2 separate regions of the Homo sapiens genome follow, and region 2 is linked to region 1. The links are contacts of gene promoters, found by promoter capture Hi-C in blood cells and fetal thymus (Javierre and others, 2016). All regions are on one chromosome and are shown on one strand. The core of a region is centred on a gene start or on the middle of the fragment in contact, and the rest is flanking DNA. Distances in the headings are between cores, read along the strand shown.

Region 1 (3,508 bases), core at 635-3,134:
AGCATTTTTACAAATACTTTTTATGTACATTCTTTATTTTGTCATTTTGTCAACCCTCTCCCCAAGCACATCTTCTTTCCTTTTACTATGTCTATGTAGGGAAAAAAACAAAACAAAAAATTGCACTTACGTTACACTCCCAAAATGTGGGTAATCCGTGTCTTTCAAAAAACATTTCTGTTTTTTGTTTTGTTTTGGTCAGTCCATTGCATAAGTGACAAGTTTGGGTGCTTGTGGCACGTATGTATGAAGCGGGAGGGGGATGAGAATTGCCTGTCCTTCAGTAGGCTGTAAAAGTAATTTACATGTAAGTAAAAAGGGAAAATAGAATAGATGCCAAAGTCATTTATTCAGTCCTTAGTTTTCTTATGTGGCATTACTGCATCTGCTAGTTAGTGAGAAAGCACCCTCAGCTTTTACTGCTCCCCTCCCTGCCTGCCAACACACTTGATGTGTGCAAACAGCCCTCAAGTATCTGTCAGATGACCTATATAAGGTATTGAATAAGGTATTCTTGTCAGTTTAGAAATGGACTGGATAAAACTTACTTGGTTGTCATTATTTTATCTCATTTGTCCTGTTACATGCCCTATGTTAAGATAATTATATTGCCACTAATAATCAAGATGCTAAATGAGTATTACAACTGGCTAATATCATTTTTTATATACAAGGGTATGTGTATATTTGGAATTGATATGAGAAACTCATTTGTACCCATTTGAGTGATATTGCACAACAAACACAGATACCTACAGACTCCGTTTTCATTTTCTCGTGTTCTTTATGATAATGATCTTTGTAGATTGGTTATTTCTGTACTTTATCTGTAATAAACTTTGTAGATCCTGTGAACCATTACTTTGCCTAAATCACTTGAGACTTGAGTCTTTAATAACAAAGCATCAATATTCACTAAAGTCAATCTCTTTTGAGTTTCTGTGACTTGGCTAGAAGCTCTTGACACTAAGGGATTAGTGTTAATTTTCCCTGGGGGTGTTCCACTAGGGCATTACTGTATAATGACTTGATGTTGCCACATAGACTTCAAGATATATAATATTTTGAGGATTTTGTTGATTGGCCTATGTTTTATTGCATAGTGTGAAACGTGTAAAGCTTGGTTAACCTGTATATAGATAGCTTATTGTTGACTAGTTATAGTGTATTTAGGGTTGCCTGTAATATTTAAGCTTCTTTACTGATGTGTGTGCTGGTAGGAACATATAATTTTTGTACATTATATTTACTGAGATGTTGCCTTTTTTATTTTACAAATACTTTGGAATTCCAATGTGTTTTTTGCTTCCGTGAGGATTAATTTGGAAAGGTTTTTAATGACATTCCACTGATTTCAGATTTTGCTTGAGATTGACTTCAATAAATTGTCCTGTATGTTCCAAATTAAATATGTGGGCTTGTTCTTTGCCAATAATTTTTTGCTACAACACTCTGGGCAGGAGGCCATCCTGGGTGGGAGGACTAAATGACACAATCCAGCCAACCTCAGGTAGTGTAGCTTCCTGCAGAATGCGGCTGTGTTGCTAAGGAACGAGGATCTGAGAGCGGGCTGTTTGGTTTTCCATTTAGAGGCGAGGTCCCGGGAGAAGGCTGCTCCCCGCGGTGGTGTGGTTGGGCCGTGGAGACGAGCTGCTGATGATGGACCGTACGCCGACCTACTCGGCTGGAACTGGGGCGCTGGCTCCCTGCTGAACGCACCAGAGGGCAGCTCCGCTGGCTTTGCGTACCCTTTGCCAGACGATGCCCTCGGCACAGCCGCCAGGCCGTCTTCCTGGGGAGCCGCCGGAGCGCGGGCAACTGGGAGAGGGGGCGGTGCCCAGTTCCCGGCCCGGCCCTCCCCGCGGAGGTGGCCACGTCAGCGCAGCGTCGCTCGGAGCTCGCGGCCGGATGGGGAAGGCGGCGGCGGCGGTGGCCTTTGGGGCCGAAGTGGGCGTGCGGCTCGCGCTGTTCGCGGCCTTCCTGTAAGAAAGATCCACGGCCGGGCCCGGGCGGCCCCGCTTCCCAGGCAGGCGGGCGGCACGGGGCGGCGGGTCGGGCAGTGGGGAAGCGGGGAGGAAGCCAGGCGACCTGCTCTGCGCTTCTTTGTTCCCCTCTAGGGTGACGGAGCTGCTCCCCCCGTTCCAGAGACTCATCCAGCCGGAGGAGATGTGGCTCTACCGGAACCCCTACGTGGAGGCGGAGTATTTCCCCACCAAGCCGATGTTTGTGCGTGGAGAAAGATCGTCTTTCCTCCCTCCCCATGACCCGGCTTCCCGCGGGCACCTGTGCGTTTTCCACCCCGAGACGGCCTTTGTAGGGACCCACTGCCCACTCCGCTGCTGTGCGCTGGGTTCCGCCTCCTAGGGCTCGAGTGTTTAAGATCCTGATTGAGAGAGGAGGGTGTCCGAGCCTCTTTGGGCTGAGACAACGTTTTCCCGGGCGCTCTGTGCCTCAGCCTGAGGTACCGGGGCCCGAGCCGCACGGGCGCTGCTGTTCACTGGTGGCGCTGCCTGGCGCCCGGTTACGCGCACTCAGAGACCTTATGTTAGCTCCAGTGAGTCCTGCTGTGTCACATCCCTCTTTCCTGTAGGAGCACGAGTGTGGCTTTTTTTTGGATTGTTTTTAACCTCTGACATTCTGATTCAGGTTATTGCATTTCTCTCTCCACTGTCTCTGATCTTCCTGGCCAAATTTCTCAAGAAGGCAGACACAAGAGACAGCAGACAAGCCTGCCTGGGTGAGCGCTAGCCCTTTCGGGCCGGTTTCTTCGTGCTGGGAACCTAGGAGGTCGTTGTGGGATTCAGCCACGGTGAGCCTGTGTGGAGGCCACTGAGTTCTGCATTCCTAAAGGAACTCTATCCCCGCGGGAGAGGAAAATAGCACTGCAGGGACTTGGTTACGCAGGCTACACGGCAGGCAGCCCTGTGCCTAAATGCACTGGGTTATTTGTACCTCAGAAATGTCTTTGGCCTAGTACAAAAGTTCTCGGCTACAAAAGAGTGATCACTGAGGACCCTAATTATTTTTGTGCCCAGGCCTGGTTGGATTCTATCCATCTCAGAAACAGCACGGCTGCTCTCATAACGAGGCCATGACCATACCTTTCCTCCTAGACAGATCCTTTCAACTAATGGCTTTGCTTTGCAGCTGCCAGCCTTGCCCTGGCTCTGAATGGCGTCTTTACCAACACAATAAAACTGATCGTAGGGAGGTAAGTGACAACAGCTAACCACCCCAGCATCTGCCTCAGCCCTTACCCACCAGAACAGAGAGGTTAATGGTGTCCACCACACGTCTTTCTCATTCTTTTCTCCTTTATCTTCACTCTGATTTTTCTTTTGTCATTCAACGCTTACTCCCTTCCCCATACCTCAGTCCTCCAGGTGACACCTGGGCTCTTTTCTGCCTGAACAGCATTTCCCACCAACGGCCACAGCAGTCGGTCAGTGTCCTCTTGAGCACCTCCTGAAGCTGCAGTGTCATTTGCTGTTTGCCCTAAAAAGTAATC
Region 2 (3,625 bases), core at 1,126-3,625, 170 kb before region 1:
TTCTTGTTGCCCAGGCTGGGGTGCAATGGTGCGATCTCAGCTCACTGCAACCTCCACCTCCTGAGTTCACGCAGTTCTCCTGCCTCAGCCTCCTGAGTAGGTGGGATTACAGGCATTCGCCACCACACCTGGCTCATTTTGTATTTTTAGTAGACACGGGGTTTCTCCATGTTGGTCAGGCTGGTCTCGAACTCCTGACCTCATGTGATCCGCCCACCTCAGCTTCCCAAAGTGCTGGGTTTACAGGCGTGAGCCACCGAGCCCAGCGCCATCTAATTCTTTTGTTGTGGTAAAATATATGTAACATAAAATTAACCATTTTAACTATTTTTATTTTTTTAAGTTAAATTGATTATGTAATGTTTTTGAGACAGGGTCACACTTTGTCACCCAGGCTGGAGTGCAGTGTTGCTATCTCAGCTCACTGCAGCCTCGACCTCCCGGGCTCAAGAGATCCTCCCACCTCAGCCTCCCAAGTAGCTGGGACCACAGGTGCACGCTACCATGCCTGGCTAATTTTGTTTTTCTTTTTTTTTTTTTTTTGTAGAGATGAGGTCTCACTTTGTTGCTCAGGCTGATCTCTAACCCCTGGACTCAAACAATCCTCTCACCTCAGCCTCCCGAAGTATTGGAGTTAAGAGATGTGAGCCACTGTGCCCGGCCAATTTTTAAATTTGTAATTGATGCATAATGGTTATGTATAATCGTCGGGTACGGTATGATGTTTTGATCCACGCACACATTATGTAACGACCAAATCATGGTAATTGCTGTATTGTATCCATCACTTTAAATATTTATCATTTCTTTGTGGTGCATTTTCACCAATTTTAAGTGCACAGTTTTGTAGCATAAAATTTATTCACGCTGTGTAGCCATCACCACCATCCATTTCACCTTCCCTGACACCTTACCTGTTCAACGCTAACTCCCCCTTCTCCCCTCTTCCAGCCCCTTGGTAACCACTATTCTACAGCTTTTCATTTTCAAAGGATGTTTTATTGTCTTTAGTCTCATCGTGTGAAACCTTAAGAGAATTTCTTTACGGTGGAGAAAAAGTAACTTTATGAAGCCCATTCCTTTCTCTACTCTGGAGAGGCTGGTGACCCAGCCCCACCATTGCAGGAATGAGACGGGATTGCGGGGATATGGCAGGCACTTGGGGTGCTGAGAGTCCAGGTGAACTGTGAGCTCAAGCACCCATGTCGGGCTTGGGGGACCAGAAGACACATCCTGAAACAGCTGAAGCCTCTACTAATTCATCAGCAAGTTTAGGGAGCGGCAACTTTTCCCTGCCCAGCTGCTGGCGTTTCCTTCCCCATACAATTTCTGCTGAGTTTGGGGGAGGGGAGGTTGTTCGAGAGGCCCCAGCTGGGAGAGGTGGGGGGAGGGCGATACATTCTTTTCCTTAAGGAACCTGACCGAACTTTAAGGTCAGAGCTCAGTGGAGAGTGGGAGCTGCAGGGTTACCTCTTTGCCGTTGATTCATCTCTCCACCCTCCCCCACTCTTAATGATCTTTCCATTACAGAACCCAGACCAGGAAGTGCATGACAGGTCGCAGCTGCAGACACATGGCTGGGAGGCCTGGGCTCCGGGCCAGTGGTGGGAGAGTCTGAGCTCCCCTCCAGCAGTGGGACCCCTGCACACACACACACACACACACACACACACACACCACTTTAACAACTTGGTGGAAGATGTTCTTTCTTATGCACTGTCACAGGTGATGACGAGTTGGACTTTGCTTTGAGTTTAGGATGTGATTTATATTATAATAAAGGCAGGAGAAGACACTCCCCCTGCCCCGGTCCAACCTGAGTGTTTAGATCCCCCCAACTTACAGTCCACCTAAGTGGTCCTTACCAGATCCTGGGAGCTTTCTATTATCGTGCAGATGCCCCAACTTCTTTTCCCAAAATAGGACCCACCCAATATGGCCTTAGAAGCTTCCCAGGGTATCCGGGGCAGTTGCTAGTCACAGTCTTAATGTCTCCGAAATAGTATGTTTTCCTCTCTATGTTTCTATTAAAATGTCAGCCCCAAAACATGTTTCTGGGTGGAGGTCTAGGTGCAACAGCACAGCCTTTGCAAACACAGATAGACTTGGGTTCAAGTCATAATAGATGAGTTGAGCCTCTCATTTTTCAGTCTTCATTGGGGATGGCTCTTTCCATTTGCAAGTTGTTCAGGAAATGTTAATTGACCCTAAACTGTGTCCTAGGGGGCAGTTGTCACACAGGAGTTTCTGTCTTCACCACCAGCTGTGTCCTTGGCTTCCTTCCCTGAATCTGCCAAGGCTGGATTCTGGTGCTAAATGTGAAATGGTGACACAAACTTCTAGGAACTGTGAGCTTGGACGGCCCTCCTCCATAGCCGCAGGGCATCTACCTTTGCTCTTCTTGGATGAGTGAATGAACTTCCCTCTTTCCAGAGCAATGCTTTCTTCCTGTTTAGATAGGAGGGAGAGAAGCAAAGTGTATTGGGAATAGGTTGAGCGAAAGAGTGTAGTAAGAGTTTTCTGTACAGCTCTGTCCTTAATGTATCAGTAAACAATAGGGTGAGAACTTTTGCTGGGGAGAGAGGAAGGAGGGAAATTTCTTTTCAGACAACTCTTGGGTGCATTCCTTTGTTAATCACTTAATTACAGCCCTTCTCCCAGTGAGGTAGTGAACTCCCCATTGTGAGAGGTAGGGAGGAGGTGGGGGACACTGGTGCTGATTGGAGAAAGGTGGCAAAATCCCTAGGGGAAAAAAGTACAGATTTGAAGGAGGCATCAGATGAATCCGTGCATAGAAGCTTGAGCCCCAAACTCAGTTCTCAGGCTGCGTTATCCTTTACGACACCCAGAGTCCCTCTGTCTTTTAAGATCCACACACAACTCTCCAGGCCAATAGCTCTTGGCGCCTGCGATTCCCAAGTGGGATTCTACACGTGTCTTGCTGCCCAGCTCGGGGGGATCTGTTTTTGGGGGGTCTCGGGGCGGGTGCAGGGTCCTGGCTGTGGCTTTGGCTAGTGCAGGCGGCTCGGCACTAAATTACAGTGACGAGGTGGGACGCACAAAAGGCCGAAATCTTTTTTTAATAAAAACAAAACAAAACTCTGGGCCCCAAGCCCCTGGGCTGCTGAATGGCCATGGCTTCCTGTCAGGATTAGCCGGGCTGCCTGGGCCTGTGTGCTCGGCCTTTCTCCTCAGGAAATACCTTTAGTAAGCCCCGGTGGGGTCCCCATGGCAACGCACGGGGGGACCTGCTGGCAGAGGCCATTCAGTCTGCCATTGTCCCCCGGCCCCTTTGTTGTGAGCTTTATTGCCGGCCCTCTGGCAAACACAGCAGTTTGCACCGTTTTGTCAGGCTGAATGTGGAGTTTTTACATTTTAATGGGCTCTTCTGGCAGTGGCCCATTTGCATGCAAAATGTCCCCTCTTACTCTTTTCACTTTCTTCAATTTAAAAAAAAAAAAAAAGCCCTTCTCCAAATCCCCTGGGTCGGGGGGCTGGTGGACGCCATTGGCCCTGGGTGTCAGGCCCTGCTAATTGATTTGGTGCTCCCGGCTCTCTTTCCACACATACCTGTGCCCCCCATTTTTGCAGCTCTCCTTCTATTTGGGGACTCCGAGAGTTGAGA

What was found. The method cuts DNA at HindIII sites, captures the fragments that hold promoters and counts their contacts. A CHiCAGO score of 5 or more calls a contact.
Region 2: a fragment that was not itself captured here is called in contact with the fragment with the promoter of PLPP5 in region 1 in 2 of 17 cell types (activated CD4 T cells and naive CD8 T cells); the score reaches 5.4 in activated CD4 T cells.

The regions. Positions count from the first base shown.
Region 1 is chr8:38,267,600-38,271,107 of GRCh38, reverse strand. It overlaps PLPP5 (phospholipid phosphatase 5), which reads left to right and starts at 1,884. Exons shown (of 7, transcript NM_001102559.2): 1 at 1,884-1,982; 2 at 2,118-2,226; 3 at 2,647-2,737; 4 at 3,148-3,211. The coding sequence starts at 1,909. NSD3 (nuclear receptor binding SET domain protein 3) reads left to right here. Exons shown (of 24, transcript NM_023034.2): 24 at 1-1,404. It also overlaps a transcript of DDHD2 not described here. RefSeq lists a silencer at 1,686-2,165. The HindIII fragment of the contact is 3,801 bases long and covers 1,196-3,508 here.
Region 2 is chr8:38,440,415-38,444,039 of GRCh38, reverse strand. The region is part of intron 2 of FGFR1 (fibroblast growth factor receptor 1); the gene reads left to right. Among named protein-coding and RNA genes, the nearest start is that of FGFR1, 26 kb to the left of the region's middle. RefSeq lists enhancers at 1-447, 448-1,238, 1,239-2,029, 2,030-2,820, 2,821-3,610. The HindIII fragment of the contact is 850 bases long and covers 1,951-2,800 here.